Regions from separate parts of the Homo sapiens genome. Here all the other regions are linked to region 6. Evidence: promoter capture Hi-C in 16 types of primary human blood cells and fetal thymus (Javierre and others, 2016). All regions are on one chromosome and are shown on one strand. The core of a region is centred on a gene start or on the middle of the fragment in contact, and the rest is flanking DNA. Distances in the headings are between cores, read along the strand shown.

Evidence for each region. Contacts are between HindIII fragments. The CHiCAGO score rates a contact against its expected background, and 5 or more counts as called.
Region 1: a contact is called between a fragment that was not itself captured here and the fragment with the promoter of LRIG1 in region 6, in 1 of 17 cell types (activated CD4 T cells). The highest score is 5.6, in activated CD4 T cells.
Region 2: a contact is called between the fragment with the promoter of PSMD6-AS1 here and the fragment with the promoter of LRIG1 in region 6, in 2 of 17 cell types (naive CD8 T cells and total CD4 T cells). The highest score is 5.3, in naive CD8 T cells.
Region 3: a contact is called between a fragment that was not itself captured here and the fragment with the promoter of LRIG1 in region 6, in 4 of 17 cell types (activated CD4 T cells, non-activated CD4 T cells, total CD8 T cells and 1 more). The highest score is 13.6, in activated CD4 T cells.
Region 4: a contact is called between a fragment that was not itself captured here and the fragment with the promoter of LRIG1 in region 6, in 1 of 17 cell types (activated CD4 T cells). The highest score is 5.4, in activated CD4 T cells.
Region 5: a fragment that was not itself captured here is called in contact with the fragment with the promoter of LRIG1 in region 6 in 1 of 17 cell types (activated CD4 T cells); the score reaches 5.4 in activated CD4 T cells.
Region 7: a contact is called between a fragment that was not itself captured here and the fragment with the promoter of LRIG1 in region 6, in 1 of 17 cell types (naive CD8 T cells). The highest score is 6.0, in naive CD8 T cells.

Annotation. Positions count from the first base shown.
Region 1 is chr3:69,028,532-69,031,985 of GRCh38, forward strand. TMF1 (TATA element modulatory factor 1) reads right to left here. Exons shown (of 17, transcript NM_007114.3): 11 at 1,284-1,476. Among named protein-coding and RNA genes, the nearest start is that of EOGT, 17 kb to the left of the region's middle. The HindIII fragment of the contact is 3,571 bases long and covers 79-3,454 here.
Region 2 is chr3:64,010,098-64,013,492 of GRCh38, forward strand. It overlaps PSMD6-AS1 (PSMD6 antisense RNA 1), which reads left to right and starts at 1,867. Exons shown (of 2, transcript NR_189168.1): 1 at 1,867-1,945. PSMD6 (proteasome 26S subunit, non-ATPase 6) reads right to left here. Exons shown (of 8, transcript NM_014814.3): 6 at 3,342-3,395; 7 at 781-858; 8 at 454-667. The coding sequence ends at 571. It overlaps PSMD6-AS2 (PSMD6 antisense RNA 2), which reads left to right. Exons shown (of 3, transcript NR_038286.1): 3 at 1,700-2,146. The HindIII fragment of the contact is 1,623 bases long and covers 971-2,593 here.
Region 3 is chr3:69,010,127-69,013,680 of GRCh38, forward strand. EOGT (EGF domain specific O-linked N-acetylglucosamine transferase) reads right to left here. Exons shown (of 18, transcript NM_001278689.2): 1 at 3,448-3,554; 2 at 2,389-2,673; 3 at 1,810-1,865. EOGT-DT (EOGT divergent transcript) reads left to right here and starts at 2,994. Exons shown (of 1, transcript NR_185971.1): 1 at 2,994-3,554. RefSeq lists silencers at 2,876-3,425, 3,486-3,554. The HindIII fragment of the contact is 1,028 bases long and covers 808-1,835 here.
Region 4 is chr3:69,059,394-69,063,221 of GRCh38, forward strand. It overlaps UBA3 (ubiquitin like modifier activating enzyme 3), which reads right to left. Exons shown (of 18, transcript NM_003968.4): 9 at 3,589-3,744; 10 at 2,684-2,786; 11 at 2,421-2,534. Among named protein-coding and RNA genes, the nearest start is that of TMF1, 9.0 kb to the left of the region's middle. The HindIII fragment of the contact is 1,506 bases long and covers 1,511-3,016 here.
Region 5 is chr3:69,106,389-69,110,010 of GRCh38, forward strand. It overlaps LMOD3 (leiomodin 3), which reads right to left. Exons shown (of 3, transcript NM_198271.5): 3 at 1-2,733. The coding sequence ends at 2,707. Among named protein-coding and RNA genes, the nearest start is that of LMOD3, 14 kb to the right of the region's middle. The HindIII fragment of the contact is 494 bases long and covers 1,392-1,885 here.
Region 6 is chr3:66,499,027-66,502,468 of GRCh38, forward strand. LRIG1 (leucine rich repeats and immunoglobulin like domains 1) reads right to left here and starts at 1,996. Exons shown (of 19, transcript NM_015541.3): 1 at 1,164-1,996. The coding sequence starts at 1,381. RefSeq lists enhancers at 1,092-1,592, 1,593-2,093 and silencers at 1,196-1,405, 1,426-1,505, 1,546-1,685, 1,706-2,365. The HindIII fragment of the contact is 6,273 bases long and covers 1-3,243 here.
Region 7 is chr3:68,991,811-68,995,442 of GRCh38, forward strand. The region is part of intron 10 of EOGT (EGF domain specific O-linked N-acetylglucosamine transferase); the gene reads right to left. Among named protein-coding and RNA genes, the nearest start is that of EOGT-DT, 19 kb to the right of the region's middle. The HindIII fragment of the contact is 4,506 bases long and covers 1-3,632 here.

The DNA.
Region 1 (3,454 bases), core at 614-3,113, 2.5 Mb after region 6:
TTAAGATTTCATTTAAAAAGAGACTTTATAAAAATAATTTTGAGTACCATCATCCTATAATATGCTCAGATTCCACAAAGCTTATTAGGGAGTTCTATGAAAATGTTTCTAAAAGTTCAGATATTTTACTTTAGAAATCATTTTTACTTGACATTTTTTTAAAAAGTAAAATTTCCAAGGAAGAACAGAGGGTTAAAAAATACTAACCATTGCCTTAATATAATCTCAGATAGATGGATTTTACACCCCATGGTTTCCAAGAACCCAGAAATTTATTTAGAAAAGACTTAAATTATACTACTAAAATCCTTGTAATATAAAAGTAACTCCAAAGAGTAGTCTCAAAACTATTTTGTGGTGTTATAGGCCCCTTTAAAAAATCTGATTAAAGGTACAAATCCTTTCCCTGGAAAAAAAAATAAATACAAAACATGCCACACAATCTCAACAATCTACATGACAATGAATCCCAGTACTATCTTCTTGTTATAATATCCTATTACTTTATTTATTTTTTTTTTTTTGGAGACGGAGTCTCGCTCTGCTGCCCGGGCTGGGGTGCAATGGTGCAATCTCACTGCAACCTCTGCCTCCCAGGTTCAAGCAATTCTCCTGCCTCAGCCTCCCGAGTAGCTGGAATTACAGGCGTCTGCCACCATGCCTGGCTAATTTTTGTATTTTTAGTAGACACAGGGTTTCACCATGTTGGCCAGGCTGGTCTTGAACTCCTAACCTCAGGTGATCCACCTGCCTCAGCCTCCCAAAGTGCTGGATAACAGGCATGAGCCACAGCACCCGGCCATAATATCCTATTACTAATAACCCTAACTTTAAATGCTAAAAGTGATTACATTTAGTTCTTGGTACCCTGAAGCTAAAAGCCAACGACATACTTTGTTTATTTACTTATTTAATTTATTTTTTTTTTTTTGAGACCGAGTCTCACTCTGTCACCCAGGCTGGAGTGCAGTGGTGGGATCTTGGCTCACTGCAACTTCCGCCTCCCGGGTGTAAGCGATTCTCATGCCTCAGCCTCCGAGCTGCTGGGATTACAGGCGCACACCATCACACCTGGCTAATTTTATTTTTAGGAGAGAGTAGGTTTCGCCATGTTGGCCAGGCTGGTCTCCACCTCCTGACCTCAAGTGATCCGCCCGCCTTGGCCTCCCAATGTGCTGGGATTACAGGCGTGAGCCACGGCGCCCGGCCCAACAACATACTTTTAAAAAGTGCTTTAGGATGTCACGGAACTACCAAAAATATCACTCAGAAACCATGCTCACCTATTGTTCTCATCCTCCAGTTTACACAGCCTATTTTTCTCTGATTCTAGCTGGGCTTGAAATCTACTGTTTTCCTGTCTTAAAAGAGAATTCTGTGACTCCATGGAAGACATCTGAATTTTGTTAGCAAGGAGTTCTTCTGTAGCTGCACGTTCTCTCTCAACTGCTGCTGCCAGCAAGGTCTGGGATTCACCTGATTACAGGACAGAAAAAAAAATCACATACACATACAGCCCAGAGACCAAAATACCAAGTCAATTCTGATTTCAAACATTTAATGATGCAAGTAGCCACACTTAAAACTGATAACTATTTATTGCCTAAGGCAGGACTGTCTACTGAGACAAATGAACCAATCTTAACTTATACCTGCTTTATCACTCTTTTCCAAAAGTATTTTAATTTCAAAATGGAGTCATGCATTAAAAGAGTAGTGGATCACCAACACCAAATGGTCCTGGAGCAACTGGACAGCTATATGCAAAAAAACCAAAAAGCCTACACATCACATCATTCACGAAAATTAACTCAAAATGGATCATAGACTTATATGTAAAACATGAAACTATAAAACTTTTAGGAAAAAACAGAGGAGAAAGTCTTCAGGATCTAGAACAAGGCAGATTTGACACAAAAAGCAAGAGCCATAGAAAGAAAAACTGACAAACTGCTTCAAAATTTTCAACTTTTAAATCTATGTGAAGAGGATGAAAAGGCAAACTACAGAGTGAGAGCAAATAAATGCAAACCATATATCTAGGATTAGTATCAGGAATATATAACAATCTAGTTAGAAAATGGGTAAACGACATAGACAGAAATTTCACCATAGAGAATGTACAAATGGAAAATAAGGACATAAAATGATGTTCAATAACATTAGCCATTAGGGAAAAAATACAAATTAAAATCATAATGAGATATCACTACATGCTGTCTGAGTAACTAAAAGAAAAAACAGGGACGACATAAAATGTTGGCAAGGGTGTGAAGAAACCACATTACTCTTACACAGCCACTTTGTAAACAGTTTGGCATTTTCTTAAAAACACTAAACATGACCTGGCAATTGCACACTTGGGCATTTATCTAGAGAAATGAAAACTTAGGTTCACACTAAAACCTGTACATGAATATTCACAGTAGCTTTATCTGTAATAGCCAGAGCTTGGAATCAGCCTGGACGTCCCTTGTGCAGTGAATGGTTAAATATACGTGGTACATACTATGGAATAACACTCAGCAATAAAAAGACTAAACTACCGATACAAAAACAACTGTGTGAACCTCTTCCTGGGAATTACACTGAGTGAAAAAAGCCAAACCCAAAATGTCATACACTGTATAATTTTATTTATGTAACATTTTTGAAATGACAGAATTTTAGAAACAGAGGACAGATTAGTGATTGCCAGAGATTTGGGACAAGGGAGGAAGGGTTGAGAGAGTGGTAGGTGTGTTTCCAAAAGGGTAACATTAAGAGTGATTATTTTCAGCTAAGAAAAAAAGAAAAAAAGCTAACAGGAAGGACTCAATAGTGTTGGAACTGTTCAATATCTTGACTATGGTAATGGATATGTGGTATAGTTGTTTAGAACTTAATACACACACACACACACACATACACAAATGAGTACCAATAAAACTTTGGAAATCTGAATAAAATCAGTAGATTGTATCAATGTCAATACCATGGTTGTGATATTATACATTAATTTTGTAAGATTTTAATACTTGGAGATATTAGGCAATGTGTACAAAGGACCTTTCTATATTATTTCTTATAACTGCACATGAATCTACATTATATCAACAAAAATTTTCAATTGAAAAAAAGAGCAATGGGTAAGATTCTGAGATTTAACCTAGGTAAGAATTCTTGTATTTTTTCTCCACCAAAGTAGAGCTAGTAATACCTCTATTTCACATTTTACACTCTGCTCCACAGCATAGCTATGGTCTTTTTAATAGCATTCCTTGGTATGTTTGTCCTGTGGCTTTGCCTATATGCTAGCACAATACCACATATTGCTGAGGGTATGTAGACTTCAGTCTAAAAACCACAAAAGTACCAGTTTCTAGCATTCATTTATTGCTAAATATTTATTTCAAAAGATATCATTTTCAGATGTCTCATATTTCACAGCACATTGCTCTCAAAAGCTGTCAGA
Region 2 (3,395 bases), core at 617-3,116, 2.5 Mb before region 6:
AATACTTACATATAAGGTTTTAGAAAACTGAGATCAGCCTTGGTAGATTCTGTAATCCAGGTTATGTCAGCTTCCTAAAAAAGAGTAACTTCCTGCCTTATATGGTTACTTGTTTCTGAGGGAAAGCTTATTACACATTTTCTTTATCTTCTATCTTTTGTATACTAAAAGTGGGAGACACTGTTTGTTTAATTTTAGGCCACTACTCTTCTTTCTAAAATCGGGAAGCTTACAGGTAAGAGATTTAAAGGTAAGCGATAATGGGCTGTGTCAACATCCGTATTTTACTGACGTATTTTACTGATGAGGCAGTCAGGAGCTGAACCTAGCTGAACCCAGCTGCAACCTTACCCTATAAACCAGATTTTCATTAATGAATAATTCAAGTGACATTATTTTAACATAAGTGGACCCGATTCTAGAAGGCCTATGTGTTTAAGAAAAAAATAAATGGAAAGAAACAACAATGCAGTATTTATTTTATACAGCTGACCTGGGCACATTGTGAAGTAAGCTATAAAAATTCCAAATAATTATCTCTAAAGCAAATCCTTTGTTAGTTACATGGCTTTACATATTAATTACTCTGGAAAGTTTTTGAACTCTGTTTAGTAGCAGATCTCCTTTCTTGATAGTTTCTTGGTACTGCCAGTTCTTGCTATCAGGTCTATAAATAAATTCAAGAAAAAATGAATTATTTACCAGTCACATTATTCCATGACAATAGTTGACCTACTTTTAAAATTTAGGAATGCCCCTTATTCTGAGAAATGAGAGTACCTGTTGGTTTCTACTATTTCATTCACTTTATCTATTTTGCAGTGTAGTCTCCCGGCAGCAATAAACCTGGACAGTTCCCTAATTTAGAGACAAAAAATAACAGAATTAGCTTTATAGAAAATTCTTAGAAAAATGCAAACGGCATTAAAATACTGTCTTAAATTTGTAACAAACATTTAGCTTCCCTTCAAGCTTGTTATTGCACATGCAGTAGTTGACGTTGTCCCTCCTATACTGCAGGCTTTAAGTCATCATCTACTAGAATAAACATGATCCTAGAAGTTCATATTCAGATAGATAGAAAGTAGATCAAACAATGAAACCATATGTACTCAGAGAAAAACTGTAGGTTAGGAAAAATTAGGGACCAAAACTGATAAAAACAGTAAACTGTTTCAAACAAAAGACCTAAAACAAAATTATGGAACACAGCCCATCAGTAAACATGTCAACAGCAATAGTATTAACATGTCAACAGCAATAGTATTTACTAAAACAACGACCCTTTCCCTCTCTAACATATCTTAGTCTAAACAAGTGGAAGGGAAGGGGAGAAATGATGTAGAATTATTGCTTTGCCCATTTTAAAAAAGGGGATTTCATCTAAAATGTAACTTTTTAAGGGAGAAAAAAAGAATAAAGAATCCATGACAACCCAGATTTGAAATTCTTAGGTATCACAGAAATTTAAAACAAGGCCTTTTTAGGTAACAACAACTAGAGCTCAGTGGTACAACCTTTGCCTCTCAAGCTGGTCTTAGAACATGAAGGGAAAAAAAAAAAACTGAACAAATACTACCTGAATTCAACTACTACCTGAAAGGTACCAGCTGCCTTGCATTCACTTGTCATCAAGATGACTTAAGGAATACTGCGGTGTGTGCCCCTAACTAATGAAGGCTTTATCTCCACATTACAGTTACGATACTGAAGAGACGTAACCTGACCAAGGCCACAGAGCTGGAAAAAGAAGCAAAGCCAAGCCGTTTTTCTCATGCACTGCTCACAACAAGCCCCTCCTTCCACTGACTCATGAAAAACACACTCATAATGCCCAGCCCGCACCCTAATGAACAGCCCTCTTAAGAGTGGTCATCAGACTTCAATTTCACAGACTAGAATTGAGAAATGGAACAAAACCTTGGGATACCAGCCTTCCATTTTGGTAGGGATCATTTAAAAAATGGTAGGGATCATTTAAAAAATGTGTTGGTGTCTGAAACTTACTTTGAAGTGGTTAAAAAACATAAAATGTATAGATTGTAACAAGCAAATATGTTAAAATGTACTGTACAATTCTTTCTTTACAATTTTATGGATGTTCGAAATTTAAAAAATACTAGAAAGAGAATGGTCTTATTTAAAAGAAATGCATCTTCATTTAAAGTTTCCACTGCAGACCATTGAAAACACCATCATCAACATTTAAAAACACCTACATGTGGGAGCCACTGATCTAGATGCCATCTGGACATCCCATATTGAGTATGTCTCCTACCCAACTCTACTCTCACCACCCTCGTCCACGCCACGGTAACATCTCCTCTAAGAGCTACTAAACAGCACAACTGGTCCTCTCTGCCACCTTACTCTATTTCTTATATAAAGACACTGCATAGGACCATGTAACTTGGGCTCTAAATCTTCCAATGGCTCCCTATCAAACTTACTTAAAACTCAAGCTCCATCCCATGACCTACAAGGCCCTACACAAATCATTACCTACCTAACTCTCCATATATTATCCTCAAAATCTCCTACCACTCCAACTATGCTGGAGCCACCCTGACATTTTCTGTTCCTACAACATCCAAGCTTATTCCTGGCTCAAAGCCTTAGCCTTTTCTATTCCCTTTTCTGCACGCAGAAGGACTCCATATGGCTGACTCCTCTCAATTCAAATCTCAGAGCAAACCTCACCTCCTTAAGCATGCCGTACGTAAGGATAGCATTTTCTCATCTCCATAGGTTCATTTCTATATGTGAAATTACGTTTTATATTTATTTGCTTCCTTGCCATCTCTTCCCTACTACTACAATGAAAGTGTGAAAAGGGAGCTGTAAAACAATACCAAACATATAGTAATGAATGGCTCATTAAGTATTTATTTGTTTAATCACTGATGCAAGTACTAAAAGTCCCACATTTAACAACCAATCTGACCAGAATTGCAGCAGCAACCTAAAAACTGGAAGGAATTATCAGAGGGAATATGACCAACTGTAAATATCAGATCTAAGAGTCATTACCGTAGCTGCAGTGTGGTCTACAAAGAAGTAACAGAAGACAACTTTTGATAACAACTGGTCTAATGACCTTTAACAAATCACTTAGCCTCACTACAACTCATCTTCCCATCTGTTAATGCAAGGGGCAGACATGACATGAGGAAGGCAGAGGCAACAGGATACGAATGTTTTGATAATACTGAGGAAAAAAACCTCTCCCCTCCCCGTTAAGATTGAGGGAACCAATGTAAACAAGTAAAAAATTGTACAAGTTCACATATTTTAAAAGGCAACTTTAAAACTTCAATTAACATGGCATTATTCAAACTTACTGATCAATGAATTCCACACCAACACCAAACGCTTCTGCCATATAGCCAAGGGTT
Region 3 (3,554 bases), core at 72-2,571, 2.5 Mb after region 6:
ACAACTGTCATAAACAAGCAATCAAATAAACAACTTCAGCTGATGACTGGGCCTGTGAATCAAACCAACTAGGGGCCAGCAAACTTTTCCTGTAAAGGAGAAGCAGTAAATATTTTTGGCTTTGCCAGACATAAGATCTCTGTGGCAACTACACAACAATGCCTCTGTCCAAAAAAGTAGCCATGGTCTATTATAAAAGAATGGATGAGGCTGTGTTCCAATAAAACTTTTTAACTTACAAAAATTATGGAAGGGCTTGATAGGATCCAGTTTAGTGATACCTGAAACTAAATAAAGTAATATGATAGACAACATAGCATGGTGAACATTTAAAGCTTAACCACCTGGATTTGAATCGCAAATCTGCAGCTTCCCAGCTGTAAGACCTGGAACAAGTTACTTAACCTTTCTGCACCTAAGCTTTCCCATCTGTAAAATGGAAATAATAATAAACCTTCATCATAGAGCTGTCATGAGTTAAATGAGTTAGTTATTGGTAAAGTGTTTCGAAAACTATCTGGCACATGCTAAATGCTATGGAAATGTTTATTAAATAAAAGTTTAAAGCCATGTGGGGCAGAGAAGGGGCCTAAATAACATTAAAGCTGAGATCTGAATGATGAGGAGGGGAAAAGTATCTGTGAGAGAGCAAAGGGAGTGGGATGGCTCTGAGCAAGTGTGTGTCTGCTGAATAAAAAATTATAATCATAATCAAGGTATGAGCACAGACAATGTTCCAGGAGCGCTTCTGTACTCAGGATACAGCAATGAAGGTGCAGTCACGAACTAAACTCATTGCCCTTGTGAAGCTTACATGCTAGTAGGTATAATAATCAGCTATAATAGCTAAGACTTAGAAACTCCAGGACACTAAGCAGTCTGCCTCAAAGACTGTGCCCTTAAGCTCTCCCATCATGCCTTTACATTGTGAACAGTGATAATGGTCAGAAACCTCACTGCATTTCTAATTCACCCAGTAAGTGTTAAATCTCTTGGACCAGATTTCTCCTATATATCCCAGACAATGATCCTGCCATTCTCAGGTCACTTTAGTGGGATCTTTGTTCTTTTTTTTTTTTTAAGTGCTCTTTCCACTGGATGACAGAGTCTTAATACACACTGGATGTTCATCAGCTAGGACTGCTGTTTCCTGGGTCATACCGGAAAACCCAACTTTCGAAATCAGTCTTCATTGATTATGGGCTGTGAAGATGGAACCTTTAGAAACAGACTGCAGGCCTGTAATAGTAGCACTTTGGGAGGCCAAGACTGGCAGATTGCTTGAGTCCCTGAGTTCGAGACCAGCTTGGGCAACGTGATGAAACCCGGTCTCTGCTAAGAATACAAAAAATCAGCTGTAGTCCCAGCTGAAGTGGGAGGATCACTTTAGCCTGGGAAGTCAAGGATGCAGTGAGTCGTGATCTCGCCACTGCACTCCAGCCTGGGTAATGCGAGGGAGACTCTGTCTCAAAAAAAAAAAAAAACAAAGAAAGAAAGAAGAAAAGGAAATTGACTGCTATGTTCCATCAAACCTCAAGTTCCAAGGCCATGGAATTCTAAGTGAACAGTGGGGACACCAAAAAGGAATCCTTTTTCCCCCATTTTCCCCCCTTGGAGTAGTTAAGTATTGTGGTTTTTCACTTTGGCGGCCCTCAAGAGTATGGTGTTATCTGCTGTAAATCTGATCTGAATTACAATAACATTTTCACTTGGAGCTTTTATCCAAGAATGAGTTGACAGCAGTTTTATAAAAATTTAAAAACACATATTAATAGTAACAATGACTCTACTTGTAATAAAAATATATACCTCTTGAATCTTCAGAACCACTCAGAAGCTTCTGTGATGTTTCAGGTCTCTAAAACCTGTCAGAAATGAAACATATTACCTTAAAAGGATGCTAAAGTAAACCTGATCATTCAGATGATGTTGTGAATTAAAGGAAATATTAAGAAAGAAAATAATGTAACGTGATAACTCTCAGCCAGAAGGCCTGGCCGGTGGTGCGCTTTCTTTTCCTTAATGAATACCACACTGCTATACTCGAGTTCACAGGCACCACCCCCAACACAGCAACTCGGACCAGATTCCAATGGGGAACGGGAGGAGGTGGCCCACTTTCTACAGGCATCCACTGGAACTGGCCAACAGGATACTTAGTGGATCAAACATTCCCAGAAGCAAACAACTTTCCCATTCTCACAGCAGTAATCCCACTGGCTGAATCACAGGGCTACCCACCTAGAGTGGCGAGCCTGAGGGTTCCCAGGCCTTCCTATTTTTTGACTCGTCCTTCCCGGTAATAAAGTCATTGTTATGACCAAGCCCTGACCTTTGGTTATCCAAGTCCATTGTCCTCCAGTGAGCTCTGGCCATCACTAAACTCACCGATCAGTGGAGAAGTAACGCTTAGGCGATGGAAAAAATCTAAAGACGCAGATCAGAAAGCTGGCGTCTGGCGAGGGCATGTACCCACTTGCATAAGGCGGCTGGGGGTGGCTGCTGGGCCTGGCACAAAGCCTTCCTGGTGTCGGTCGTCCTGCAAGGCCCGCCGGGATGGGTGGCTGCACTCCTCCAGCACACGGACGCTTTACTGGCCAGGCTACTTTTCCTTCAGCTCAAAGCAGCTGGAATCACTCCACTCCAGAAACCCTTGATTCGATTTCCACAGGCCTAATGAGGAAGGAAAAAAGGGAAACATCTGAAAGATGATGGATAGGAGGCAAAACCTGGGGTTGACACAGCGGGCGAAATGGGGCAATGTCGCAGAGAGAGAGAGCTTGGAAAAGTTTAAAGACGGCAGTGGGCAAATGGAAAGTTCAACACGTGAGACCCCGAATGACACCTCAACGGCTGGCCCCTACTTGTGCCAAAAAGTCTCTCGGCGGGTGCCAGGCAGGGCTCAGGAAGTGCTCGGCTGCCCCTTGAACGTCAGTCCCGGCAGAGCCCAGCTGTCCGCTTGAACGTCAGTCCCGGCCAAGGGCTGAGGGGTCAGTGGCGAGCACCCCGCCGCGGCTGAGACGCCGCGCTGGGGTTCCGGACCCCGGGCGCCGCCAGGGATTGCTTCGGGGTCGGTGATCTCCCGGGGCCGCCCGCCACCGTGCACCGCGGCGCCCCGGGTCCCCAGCGCGCCTGGGAGGGGCCCCGGGGAGCGGCTCCGCCCCGGCTGGAAACCTGGTCAACGCGGCTAGGGCCCGGGGCCCGCCTGCGCTCCGGGCGCTGGGAAGGGGCCGGGCGCCCGGGGCCGGGGAGGGCCAGGATCGGCTTCCGACGCCCGCCTCCCGGCCCGCAGGGAATGGGAAGGCGCGGGCGGAGTGCGTGCGTAGGCTATAGCCCTCCGGGAAGCCGCGCCGGGAGCGGCTACCACCCGGGCAAGAACAGCGCAGAGCGCTGCGGCGGCGGGAAGGAGAGCGGGGGAAGGCTCCGCAGATTGCGGGGGAGTCCCACCTGGAGCCGGGGCAGCCGTGAACTACCGAGGAGGAGGCGGAGGAGACGGCGGCTGTTCCAGAGGAGGGAGTCGTCATAACCGGCTACTGCCGCTCACCGGAAACCTC
Region 4 (3,828 bases), core at 1,014-3,513, 2.6 Mb after region 6:
TCTTTGCATAGGAGAATGAGGCTACCATTAATCAGTTCTGAGCAATTACCAAAAAAAATAGAATGGTGAATGGCTCAGAAGTCATTTTAGGTTGAATGATTAGGAAAACTGGTTAAGCAGACACCTAAGAGATGAGGAGCCAGCCTGAGGGGATCCAAGGAAACACCATCCCCGGCGTAGGAACTCGGGAGTATTAAAGCTCTAAGGTACAGAAGAACTTGGTGTGTTCAAGGAACACAAAGCAGGTCCGTGTAGGGAGAATGCAGAGGGCAACAAGGAGTAAGTATAAATGGAATTTTAAAATGACATTACTAGATCAGTAAATGTAAGGAAATAATCACAGGAGAGAAATGGCAGATTTTCAAAAAGAAGACAAAGCTCATTCTGGTGAACCTGGTAATGATCTTGGGCAAAATTCTAAAAAAGGAAACTATAACTAGATTGGAAACATTGATCACTATGATTGAGCATGACTGGTTACTAGACAAATCATGTTGGAGTAGCCTCATTTGGCTACTATGACTAACTTAGCAACTCAGGAAAATGCAAAAGATAGCATACCTAGGCTTCAGTAGAGGATCTGGAAAGGTTTTTCATGACATCCTTGTGAACAAGATAAAGAAATACAAAGTACCAAGAAGGTCTGATGAACAGAATGAGATAAACCTAAAAGGGCCTGGCCAGAAGTATGATTCAGATGTCTGTTCTCAGAGAGTTCAGTCTTATTAAAAATTTTCATCAATTATTTGAAAAAGAAATAAAGGATATAATTATCAAAACAGGTGAAATGAAGCTAGAAACACCAGGTAAGTTGGCAGAATACATATAAAGAGAGAAAAACAGGTTGAATTTTAAGAATACATTTGTAAGGACCTATACTTGGATATTAAGAAAAACAAAAAAAAAAAGACACTCCCCAAACTGCCAAGTTTATAATAGGCAGATGTGGCTTAGCAATTGCATATGTGGACAAAACATCCAGCTTTCAGTGGCTAGTAACATCAAAGAATCCAAAGTATAGCATCAATGTAAACAAAAAAACAACAACATAAATACCTGCTCTCCTTTAAGACTGCATCAGTTATCAGAAGTCTATTATCTAAAGTTAAGACCAGTCCCATAATGCTGCATGTTGGCCTGAACAATTAGGAAAAGTTGTTTTCTCTAACTATATTCCAGTTAACCAATATGGATAGCTGGAATATGGTTACAGAAAAACAACATGAGAACCTGAAGCTGTACAACATATCAAAGGGTTGGATATAGTTTGGATATCTGTCCCCTCCAAATCTCATACTGAAATGTGATCCCCAGTGTTGGAGGTGAGGCCTAGTGGGAGGTGTTTGGACCGTTAGGGCAGATCCCACATGCATGGCTTGGTGCCCTCCCTGTGATATTAAGTTCACGCAAGAGCTGGTTATTAAAAGAAGCCTGGTATTCCCTCCTCTCTCTCTTGCTCCCTCTCGTCATATGACATGCCTTGCCATCCCCCTTAGCTTTCACGAGTAAAAGCTTCCTGAGGTCTCACCAGAAGCCAAGCAGATGCTTTTGCCATGCTCACACAGCCTGCAGAACCATGAGCCAAATAAACCTCTTTCCTGAATAAATTACCCAGTTTCAGATATTCCTTTATAGCAAAGCAAAATGAACTAATACAGGGTTAAAGGAACTAACTAGGGAGGTTTATGGCACTGATAAAAATTTGCAAAGGATGTGATCACTGTCCTCAATATGTTAAAAGCTATTACTTAAAAGGGAATTAGACTGTATACAGTACTGGGACAACAGTCAGACCAAACTGAAGACGATTTCTATTTTGAGACGAAGTTTTGCTCTTGTTGCCCAGGCTGGAAAGCAGTGGCGCAATCTCAGGCTCACTGCAACCTCAGCCTCCTGGGTTCAAGTGATTCTCCTGCCTCAGCTTCCTGAGTAGCTGGGATTACAGGCATGTGCCACCACACCCAGCTAATTTTGTATTTTTAGTAGAGACAGGGTGTTGCCATGTTGGTCAGACTGCTCTCGAACTCCTGACCTCAGGTGATCCGCCTGCCTCGGCCTCCCGAAGTGCTAGGATTGCAGGTATAAGCCACCGCAGCTGACCTGAAGACAATTTCTGTTCAATATATAGAATATTTGTCTAACAGTCCTGTCCAAATGTGAAATAGACTGTCTCTAAGAGATGATGAATTCAGTGGAAGATAAAATGGACAGTTTGACTTGGATGACTTATAGCCTAAGTAAGTAAGATTCAATAATTTTATTAAATTCCCCCTAGCTAATAAGTAGTATGAATTACATGGTACCTTTACTGAACTTCAAGTGGATGGTACTGTCTAAACTCACTTATCGATTATTCTCCTGAAAGCATCCCAGCCCTAAGTCATCCCAACATCATAATTCATGACAATTTGCTGACTTACCTTGAGTGAGCCTATACGTAACACCCCTAATATTATATTGTGATGCTCTCTCTAGGGATTTTTGGAAAATCCATTGTATATGTTCAGGATCATCTCCATCTAATGGAACCCCTTCTGTTTAAAAAAAAAAAGGGAGAGAGAGAGAGAGAGAAGACAGGAATACGTAATCACAAAACAATGTTTTTAATGAAATTATCCAAAGGAATAATATAGAAAAAATATGTATTTTATGTAATTCTAGATTATTAAATTAGGTTTATTACCTCCAAAAGGCTGCTCCTTAGGCCACTGCAACATCCTTACATACTCAATACAGTGTTCTGGTAGCCTGGGCATAGATGCAATGGTGCACATGGGAAAATTAACCTAAAACCACAGTTTGTCCTTTTCAGTGAATTTTAAACGAATTATTTTAAAATGCAACTTCCAGTTATGATCTAGTTCTTAACAATTTCATACAATTTGTTTCAACTCAAAATATTGTATACCATTAAAAATGCCTCTCAAACTATAATACAGATTAACTGAGTCACTTCACTTAGGCTGCACTGCCTGTAAAGACAGGTTTGCCCTACATTTACAAGGTATAAAATTTAAGCTTTGTTAGACTATGAGAAGAAAAATACTGAACAGATTTTCTCAAATATGAACACCTTGTTATTTTTACCTAATATTTAAGTATAAAGCAAACCAAAACAAAAGCAAGTTCAGAGTTAAGTGAATCCCAAGTGAATACTCATAAAATTGTTTACATTTATTATTCAAAATTTCAAGTGTTCTTTAAAGTGGATATGTAAACCAAAAAGCCCCATCCTTGGAAAGATCATTCTTATCCCTGGTATCTTTATTTCCCTGAAATAAATACAGGTGAAAACCACATAGATTACAGCTTGACATCAATATACAACTTTGTAATTCTACTTGATACCTACTCCCCAAATAAAAAATACAAATAAATTATGAAAGCAGAATAGTATCAAAACAATGTACTCGGTTCATATCTTTCCTCAAATAGAGCAGAATTTCATATTTTATCTTTCTTCTTAGTGTAATTTTTAAAATACGGCCACTTCTAATTAACAATCCTAAATATTAACTAGACTTAATAATTAATCCCTAATTCCATGCCAAGATACTATAAAAGAAATGCAGGTGCTTTTTTGATTACCTGTGGTGGATAAAGTTCCAGCGTGCATTCGATACAAGCAGTCATTCCAGGCAGAATCACCCGGGCATTTCCTTTAAAACCTTCTGTCCCCCCATCTATCAAAGGGACAATGGAGCTTGGATCTAAGACACCATCTTCATAATTTAGAAGAGATATCTAGGAAAACAATTTGAAGGGCTTTAAAGGAGAAGGGGATAAGAATTCAAAAGAAGAAGTATGCTTTCAAGTAATCCTATGAGT
Region 5 (3,622 bases), core at 389-2,888, 2.6 Mb after region 6:
AGTAGTCAATTCTGGAAGGGTAATAACAGAAAAATGTAACATATAAATGTTGTAAATTATGATTACATTTAAAAACAAGCTAAAATCTGCAACTAAGATCTTTAGGGTTGGGTGGTAGAAAAAGCATAATGTGAACTGCTTCACCTCTTTTGGCAAAACCTGTGTATTGAGGCCATAAGCTATGAAATTGGATCATCTTTTCTTCTTGTATATCTAAGATAAAAACCCTCTTACTGTGCATTTTGAAATTCCTGACTTTAATAATACTGTGGCTATACAAACAAATGCATAGGGGCTTTCTAGAATTTTTTTTTTTTTTTTGAGATGAGGTTTCGCTCTTGTTGCCCAGGCTGGAGTGCAATGGTGCAATCTCAGCTCACTGCAACCTCCACCTCCCATGTTCAGGTGATTCTCCTGCCTCCCAAGTAGCTGGGATTACAGGCATGAGCTACCATGCCTGGCTAATTTTGTATTTTTTTTTTTTTTTTTTTTTTTTTTTAGTAGAAATGGGGTTTCACCATGTTGGTCAGGCTGGTCTTGAACTCCTGACCTCATGTGATTCACCCACCTCGGCCGCCTACAGTGCTGGGATTACAGGCATGAGCCACCGCACCGGCCTAGAATTTCAACTACTAATTTACATTAAGCTTTTAATTATGTTTAAAGTGCTTTTCCTATCAGAGTTTAGCCTCTTAGATGTAGTATGTGCTAGACACTTGAAGTTTTGTTTGTTACAGCCCTTTCTTAGCTATCCTGCTTTGTATGCAAGGATGTTTTCTAGAAATATTGAAGGGTGAGAAAACAAAACTATCAGCCATTGAAAACTATATTTAAATTTGGATACTTTTGTACATACTAAATTATCTTAAAAAAATAGAAACGCCATATTTCTTTCCCATGGCTTGTCTTTCCAAATAATGTGTTGTTTTTAAGTCTGTCACAATTAGACCTATTCTCCCCTAGCCTGTTTGGTTTGATACATGCCACTTATGATAACATAAAAGGAGAAAGAAGGCAGGTGCCAATTATTTACTCAGGTAAAGAAGAGAGAAAAGGCACCAAAGGTTTTTTTTTTTTTTTTTTTTTTTTTTTTTTTTTTTTTTTTTGAGATGGAGTATCACTCTGTCACCCAGGCTGGAGTACAGTGACGTGATCTTGTCTCACTGCAACCTCTGCCTCCCCAGTTCAAGCAATTCTCCTGCCTCAGCCTCCCGAGTAGCTGGGATTACAGGTGCCTGCCATCATGCCCAGCTAATTTTTGTATTTTTAATAGAGACGGGGTTTCACCATGTTGGCCAGGCTGGTCTCGAACTCCTGACCTCTGGAGATCCTCCCTCCCTGGCCTCCCATAGTGCTGGGATTACAGGCATGAGCCACCGCACCTGGCCCAAAGCTTGATTTTCTAATTTCTAGGGTTCACACTACTTCTATTATTACAAAAATCTCAAATTCTATGCACCTAGTGGCTAGAATGAATAATTAAGGCCTCTAGGAACTTGGAAGAAGGACAGATTGGAGTTGTCTGGAAAATTTTTTATGGAGGACACAGGATCTGACCCGGGAGTTGAAGACTGGGTAGGACGTTCATTAATGGAGAACAGGAGGGAAGTCTCTTGGAAGGATTAATGCGAGCAAAGGCACAAGGGTGTGCACAAGGATGTTTCATCGAGTAGAGTATAAAGGATTTGTGGGAAATAAGACAGGATTAGTAAATTGGGGCCAGGCAATGGAGTGCCTTAAAGAATAGGATAAGTAGTTCAAGTTTAATCCTTCCTGTAAGCAAGTTTCCTTTAAAATATGTTTGAGAGTGATAAAATCAAATTAGACTTACAGAGTAAACACATATGAGCGTGTGTGTGTGTGTGTGTATTTAGCCAAAACCAAAAGCTTGTCAATAACTATATTATGTAAAACTTCTTTTCTATAAAAACAGCATGCTGTCTCCCATTGTCCCTCTATATATGAAAACTTGCTGCCAGGAAGTTTTCATATATGCAGGGTTTACTTTCCCATTACTTTTCCTAGTGACACTTAGTTTTCACCATGTTCTGTGGCTTACGTGTTCTGCCCCTCACAGGTACCCCTATAGAAAGAATACTCCAAAACACCAAGGGAGTCACCAAGAGAGAAAGCCAGGCAGGGTGGGAAACTGAAAATCTCCACTGATTCTGCAGAGAAGCTCTAAGGAACAATCCTTCCATTTCAAAGCATCAGAAGGGCCAGGAGCTCAATTCATCCTTCACATTTCCATAGGATGAAACATTATTTGTTCCCTTTAAGATACTATGTGATGAATTACCGCAGAAGAGATGGAAGGAGAAAAAAATGGGAATACAATAGTTAACACTTCTGTTATATTTATTATTTACCAGAAGAAAACAATAATAAAGCAAATGTTTAAAAAATTTTCTTTAACTTCTGCTTCGGGAAATATGACTCTAAATTTCACCTGAGTCACTCAAATTGATTGCAAGTAGAAAATATTGCCTCTAAATATTATATTTTATCTCCTTCCACCTTCCTCTTCAGCCCCTACTTCTTCATGGCCCAAACATTCTGCCTTTTACAAATACCCTTATCAGATGGTAGCATTGTTTCCAGTTCTGCCACGTGGATCCTAAAGTATTGCTGCTGACATAGTCTCCATGCTGTAATCCAAGAGTCACTATTTCCATTTCTTGTTCTTCTAGATGGCTCTGTTGCCTCTTACGCCAGTTCTTTTGGCAGTTGCACCTGCGATTTAAGCATTTGAGGAAACGGGGGAAATTAATCCTGGAAATTTAAGAGCTTTGCAGCAAAATTTACAAAATTTACATGCCTTAAAAGATACAGAATAGGTTTGAAATTCTGGCCAAAGCACCTCCAAAATCAAGATAAAACAACAATCATAACCACAGCCACCATTTATTAGACATTTACTAATGCCAGGGACTGTTCCAAGAGCTTTGAGCACATGGCAAAGTAACATCATGGAAATAAGAGGGCGGGTGCCTAAGTTGGCCTGGGTTCAAAGACTGGCACTAGCATGTAGTAGTTATGTGGTGTTGGGCATCAGTTTTCTCAGCTGTAAAATGATAATAACAGTATCTAATTCACAAGGCTATTATACAAGTGAGTAATCCATGTTAACACTTTTTTTTTTTTTTTTTTTTTTTTTGAGATGGAGTCTCAGTCTATCTTCCAGGCTGGAGTGCAGTGACACCATCTTGGCTCACTGCAACCTCCAACTCCCGGGTTCAAGCGATTCTCCTGCCTCAGCCTCCCAAGTAGCTTGGATTACAGGCATGTGCCACCAATGCCCAGCTAATTTTTGTATTTTTAGTAGAGACAGGGTTTCACCATGTTGGCCTGGCTGGTCTCAAACTCCTGGCCTCAAGTGATTCACTTGCTTCGGACTCTCAAAGTGCTGAGATTACAGGCATGAGCACCCGGCCTAACACTTATTTTTAAAACAGTATCTCATTACATCCTACAAAAGCCTTGTAGGGAGAGAAATGGCTCAGAGAAGACAATAACTTGCCTAAGATCATACAGCTAGGAAGTGGCAGAGCAGGATTTGAACCAGGTCTGCCTGATTTCAGTGCTCATTATTATACACTGCCTGTAAAAATATCACTATAAG
Region 6 (3,442 bases), core at 746-3,245:
TGTTCTAGGAAAAATGTCCAATTATTCAACCGAAATGCGGACTATTTAAGCTAGGCCTTTTCTGGAAAGGTACTAATGGTTCTACAGAGATGCTAATTACCCATAACTGAACGGGATTTGACTCATGCACCAGATTTGTTAGAAGTAAAAGAAGACTATTCTATTCTACCATGTTTACACAGAAGTCTAATGCCTTTTTTTTCCTGTCAAATCTCCTGTAAGAAGTGTCCCACTAAGTCCTAATAAGCCCACATCCTGACAGCACAGAAAAGAACCTCTTTCGGGTGAAACAAACAGCTTAAATCAGCCAAGCCCCTGGCACCCTCTCCTGAAGCAGCACTTCTCCAAAACTCATTTGCACCATTTATGGAGGAGAGAGTCTTGAGGGTGGGCCCCACCCCACTGGATCATCAAGCCCAATGGGGCCCCAGGGAACACACAGGAAGGGTCTGGAACACAGTTCCGTAAAATGCCAAACAGGCGTAAAAGGACAAACTCCCAGCACTCACAGGTCGCCAGGAACTGTCAAAGCCCTCTAACTCAGGGGTCCTCGGGGGAAGACTGCCTTCTGCCCCGCACAGAGAGGCAAGTCAGGCCACCACGGTCTTCGGGGATCAGGAGACGGCTACACACACTATCAACTAATAAATAATGTAAACGAAAGACTGGACCCAACAGTCACCTTCATTCATTACCCACTGGAAGACCAAGGAGCTCAGACACCAAATAGTTGGATTACAGGAGAGGAAAAGGAAACGCACCCACATACCCCCACAGACTTCTTCACACTCTTCTCCAGACGTTTCCCACCCACCCACCCGCAAACACACTCAGCTCCAGACTCCCACTCACTCACCCCCAGATGGCCCGCACGACGCGTGCTGGCTAACCCCCAAATCTCTACGACCCACGCTCGCTCGTCTCCAGACCCCACGAGGCACGCTCTTCTTCTCCAGGCTCTCTCGCACGCCTACTCCCCCGGACCTCCACGCAGAATCTCCCTTCCGCCACTCCAACCTGACAGTCTTCCAACACGCACAAGCACGCACAACTCCACACACACAACCCAGTCCGCACCCCCTCCCTGAGTACGAACCCCCGCCGCTCCATCCCCAAGTGACAGAGCCCCGGGGCGCAGAGAGGGCGGAAAGGGCGGCACTCACAGGCTCCGCGTCCAGGAGGGCAGGTCCCCGGGCAACGCAGCCAGCCCGCGCCCACCGCAGTCCAGCGAGTCCCCAGCGCAAGTGCAGGCGGCCGCGCAGGGCGCCCGCGGGCCGGCCGCGGCGGTCACCGGCTCCAGCCGAAGCAAAAGCAGCCAGAGAAGGAGAAGGCAAGGCGAGCGGCGCGGGGCCCCGAGCCCTCCCCGGACCGGCCGCGCCATCTTGTCTGGAGCGCGCTGCGAACTCCGGGCGCGGGGACTGTGAGGACCCGAACGGCCGCAGACGCGGGCGGGCCCGCGGGGCGCTCCGCTCGGCTCTAGACTCCGCACCGGGGCATGGCCCCCGCCCCAAGTTCTCTCTGCGGCCGCGGCTCCGGCACTCAGCGTGCCCCCGGTGCCCGGGCCGCTCCGGAGCACCCGGCGGGGGCCGCAAACCCCGCGCCCATCCGGGCCGGCCGGCCCGCCCGCGCTAGCTGCGAACTCCGCCGATTCGGGCAAGGTGTACCCAGCCTGCGCTCTTCGTCCGCCCGGGGCACGCCGAGTGCCGCTACCGACACCGGCCGAGGGCAGTGCTGCCGCTGCGCCTGGAAGACAGGCGTTCAGCCCCGCAGCCCGAGCTCGGTGCCGGCAGGCATCTTCCTCTGGGCTCGGAGCGCAAAGCCGTAGACCTCGGGCTGGACGGCGCGGCCGGCCCCGCGCTGGGAGGCCCCAGTGCGCCTCGCTGTCCCCACGCCGCGGCCAGAGAGCGCGCGCGCGCGCGCAGCCTCGGGTTCCGCACGGCTCCTCCGCGCAGCAAGAGTCCCGCCGACCTCGCAGCCGAACAATCAGCCGCTTGCTGTTCGCCTCCCCGCGGCCCAGCCCCGGCCGGTCCCCCAAGCCCCGCCCCCGGCCGCTCGCCCGCACACACCCCCTAGGCTCCGCGCTCCGCGGCCGCCTGCTGGCCCACGTTGGATGCTTTGCAACAGCGCCCCGCCACGCCTCCCCGCCTGCTGCTCATTGGCTGCCGGAGTCCACCGTGGCCAGCCTCGAGGGCCATTGGAGCGCTCGCTGTGATCCCGCCCCTCCCGCTTCACCGGCTACCCCGCCCCCACACTCTTTTCCCACCCAAGGTGTGAAGGGCGGGAGACTGGGAGGAGAAAGGGAGGGACGGCCCCCGCCTCTTAAAGGAGACACGCAGGTTGTTGTTGGAGAACGGGAACGCGGGCTGGGGAAAGGAGGCGTGAAGATACGCCCTCTGCGTCAAGAAGGGGAGAGAAAGTTAAGAGGGTAAAACGCCCCCGTTTTGGGGCTGTCTGGCCCCAAGGCTTTTTACGTCCTCCTCAGGCTGCAAGCAGGACTGCAGATTAGAAGCAAACCCGCGTCCGTTTTCCAGGTTCCTTCCAAAAGCGAAGACACAGGTTTAAAACTTAACACATTTCTTCCTGACTGGGACATCCTTGGTTATTTCATTAGGCGTGGTCCCCTTCCTCCTCGAGCAGCCTGGAGCATCTGCTCCTGACTTGTTCTTCACGTCCTAAATCCAGCAATATGTCCTTGATTACTAAAATGAATGTGTGCTGCAGAAACCTAGTCTCAAAGGTGCACCCTCGGCCAGGAGTGGTGGCTCACGCCTGTAATCCCAGCAGTTTGGCAGGCCAAGGCGGGCGGATCACCTGAGGTCAGGAATTCGAGACCAGCCTGGCCAACATGGTAAAACCCCGTCTGTACTAAAAATGAAAAATAAAAAAATTAGCCAGGTGTGGTGGTGCACACCTGTAATACCAGCTACGGGAGGCTGGGACAGGAGAGCTGCTTGAACCCCGGAGGCGGAGGCTGCAATGAGCAGAGACTTGTCACTGAATTGTCACTGAATTCCAGCCTGGGTGACAGAGCGAAACTCCGTCTCAAAAAAAAAAAAAAGTGCACTCTCCTTCCCAGCTAGTGAGTTGAAGGGTACTTCTAGAAATGCTGCAGCCTTTGATAAAGGGGTTGCTTTGTTGTTGTCATTGGGTTTTTGTTTTAATCAGAGTCTTTTTAAGATAATTTTCAAGAAGCCATTGTGTATTCGTAAGAGACAGAGTTAAAGGAGAAATAATAGTTAACAAAGCTTCTAACTTTTGCTCTTAAAGATCAGACCATAGTAGTAGTGTGTTACGATAGTACGTGGTAACATTAAGCAGACATACACACATTGAGAAAAAAAGAAAAAGATTACCACTGTAACATATAGCTGCCCTCTGGGCGTTTTGGTTTGCTAGTGTCTCATATCCCTTCCCAAGAGTATGCAAATTACTAACATAACTG
Region 7 (3,632 bases), core at 367-2,866, 2.5 Mb after region 6:
ACTGGACTTACAGTTCCACATGGCTGGGGAGGCCTCAGAACCATGGCGGGAGGTGAAAGACACTTCTTACATGGCAGCGGCAAGAGAAAATGAGGAAGAAGCAAAAGTGGAAAACCCTGATAAACCCATCAGATCTCATGAGACTTATTCACTATCACGAGAATAGCATAGGAAAGACTGGCCCTCATGATTCAATTACCTCCCCTTGGGTCCCTCCCATAAGATGTGGGAATTCTGGGAGATGCAATTCAAGTTGAAATTTGGTGGGGACACAGCCAAACCATATCATTCTGCCCAGGGCTCTCTAAATCTCGTGTCCCCACATTTCAAAACAAACCATGCCTTCCCAACAGTCCCCCAAAAGTCTTAACTCATTTCAGCACTAACCCAAAAGTCCACAGTCCAAAGTCTCATCTGAGACAAGGCAAGTCCCTTCCACCTATGAGTCTGTAAAAACAAAAGCAAGCTAGTTCCTTCCTAGATACGATGGGGATACACGTATTGGGTAATTACAGCCGTTCCAAATGGGAGAAATTGGCCAAAACAAAGGGGTTACAGGGCCCATGCAAGTCCGAAATCCTGCATGGCAGTCAAACTTTAAAGCTCCAGAATGATCTCCTTTGACTCCAGGTCTCACATCCAGGTTACACTGAAGCATGAAGTGGGTTCCCACAGTCTTGGGCAGCTCTGCCCCTGTGGTTTTGCAGGGTACAGCCTCCCTTCTGGCTGCTTTCACGGGCTGGCATTGAGTGTCTGCGGCTCTTCCAGGTGCACAGTTCAAGCTGTCAGTGGATCTACCATTCTGGGGTCTGGAGGATGATGGCCCTCTTCTCACAGCTCCACTAGGCAGCACCCCACTAAGGACTCTGTTTGGGGGCTCCAACCCCACATTTCCCTTCCACACTGCCTTAGCAGAGGTTCTTCATGAGAGCCCCGCCCCTGCAGCAAACTTCTGCCAGGGCATCTAGGCATTTCCATACATCTTCTGAAATCTAGGTGGAGGTTCCCAAACCTCAATTCTTGACTTCTGTGCACCGCAGGCTCAACACCACATAGAAGCTGCCAAGGCTTGGGGCTTCCACCCTCTGAAGCCACAGCCTGAGCTGTACATTGGCTCCTTTCAGCCATGGCTGGAGCGGCTAGGACACAAGGCACCAAGTCCCTAGGCTGCATACAGCATGGGGACCCTGGGCTCAGCCCACAAAACCACTTCTTCCTCCTGGGTCTCCAGGCCTGTGATGGGAAGCGGCCGCCATGAAGGTTTCTGACATGCCTTGAAGACATTTTCCTCATGGTCTTGGGAAGTAACATTAGGCTCCTTGCTATTTATGCAAAGTTCTGCAGCTGACTTGAAATTCTCCCCAGAAAGTTGGTTTTTATTTTCTATTGCACAATCAGGCTGCAAATTTTCTGAACTTTGATGCTCTGTTTCCCTTTTAAAACTGAGTGTCTTTCACAGCACCCAAATCACCTTTTGAATACTTTCCTGCTTAGAAATTTCTTCTGCCAAATACCCTAAATCATCTCTCTCAAGTTCAAAGTTCCACAAATCTCTAGGGCACGGCAAAATGCTGCCACTCTCTTTGCTAAAACATAACAAGAGTCACCTTTGCTCCAGTTCCCAACAGGTTCCTCATCTCCATCTGAGACCACCTCAGCCTGAATTTTATTGTCCATATCACTATCAGCATTTTGGGCAAAGCTATTCAACAAGTCTCTAGGAAGTTGCAAACTTTCCCACATTTTCCTGTCGTCTTCTGAGCCCTTCAAACTGTTCCAATCGCTGCTTGCTACCCAGTTCCAAAGTCACCTCCACACTTTCAGGTATCTTTTCAGCAACACCCCACTCTACTGGTACCAATTTACTGTATGAGTCCGTTTTCAGTCTGCTGATAAAGATACACCCGAGACTGGGAAGAAAAAGAGGTTTAACTGGACTTACAGTTCCACATGGCTGGGGAGGCCTCAGAATCATAGTGGGAGGTAAAGGCACTTCTTACATGGTGGCAGCAAGGGAAAATGAGGAAGAAGCAAAAGTGGAAACCCTAGATAAACCCATCAGATCTCATGAGACTTACTCACTATCACAAGAATAACACAGGAAAGACTGGCCCCCAGGATTCAATTACCTCCCCCTGGGTCCCTCCCACAACATGTGGGAATTCTGGGAGATACAATTCAAGCTGAAATTTGGTGGGGACACAGCCAAACCATATCAAGGACCAATCTGGGTACCATAACGAGATCTTGTCTCTACAGAAAATAAATTTAAAAATTAGCCAGATGTCAAATCAGAAGACAGTAATATATATTATATATACGCACACACACATATGTTATGACTATATTGTCATAACACATATATAACACATATATGGAAAAGAATAGCCAGGTATGGTGGCATGCACATGTAGTCCTAGCTACTTGGGAGGCTGAGGCAGGAAGATCACCTGAGCCCAGGAGAGCAAGGCTGCAGTGAGCTAGGATCATATTCCTGGACTTTAGCCTGGGTGACATATTTGCACTTATTAAAATAAAGAGAGTCCTGCAAGGGACTCACACACGTTAAATGCAGTTACCCTTGGGGGAACAGGGAATTGGAGAGGAAGAAGGAGACTTTTTTAAAAACTTCACATACTTCTGTGTTGTTTGAACTCATTATAATCAGGTATTACTTTCATAATTAAAAAAGTAATCATGGCTGGACACGGTGGCTCACATCTGTAATCCCAGCACTTTGGGAGGCCAAGGCAGGCGGATCACCTATGGTCAGGAGTTCGAAACCAGCCTGGTCAACATGGTGAAACCCTGTCTCTACTAAAAATATAAAAATTAGCCAGGTGTGATAGCACACACTGTCATCCCAGATACTGGGGAGGCCGAGGCAGGAGAATCGCTTGAACCTGGGAAGCGGAAGTTGCAGTGAGGCAAGATCGCGACACTGCACTTGAGCCTGGGTGACAAGCAAGACTCTGTCTCAAAAACAAACAGAAAAAAAGTAATCATAAAGCTATACTACTTCTCAGCACAAGCAAATGTGGAAAGCCTGCCGTAATTTCTCCTTTTATTCATTCTGTTTGATAAGAGCAACCCTGCTGTGCCCAGAGAGGCATCTGAAGATGGGTCCCTCTATGCATGTTTGCAGGTTGGTGGCCTTGCCCATCCCACTGAAGATGCCACATGCTGAAGGGAGTAAACTGCAGAGCTTTTCAAGGAGGAGAGGGAAAGGCCCCATAGGCTTCCTTGTGATGACAGGTTGGAAAATATCACCAAGATGTGAACTGCAGTCACAGTTACCTCCCTGCTCTTCCCTGGGCAAACTGCTCATCCAAGACCATCAGGACTCTGGCAACACCATCCACCGGGAGGGATTCATGTCATAGTCAGCCTGCAGGTCACAGTGATGCTTAATTTAAGTCCTTACCAACAAAAGGGAAACAGCAGCCACACAAACCCTTACTTAGCGCCATCCCCATCCAACCTACCCTGTGGACCTGAATTCTGGAGCAATCTGGCAGAATTGCCTGTCCTGAGAACCTGGCTTAGTAAATGGCTTCTTTGACCAAGCGTCCGGGTTTAAAATGGATGCACATGGAGTGGCAAAGGAAGGAGGTAACACCAGGCGGCCACCC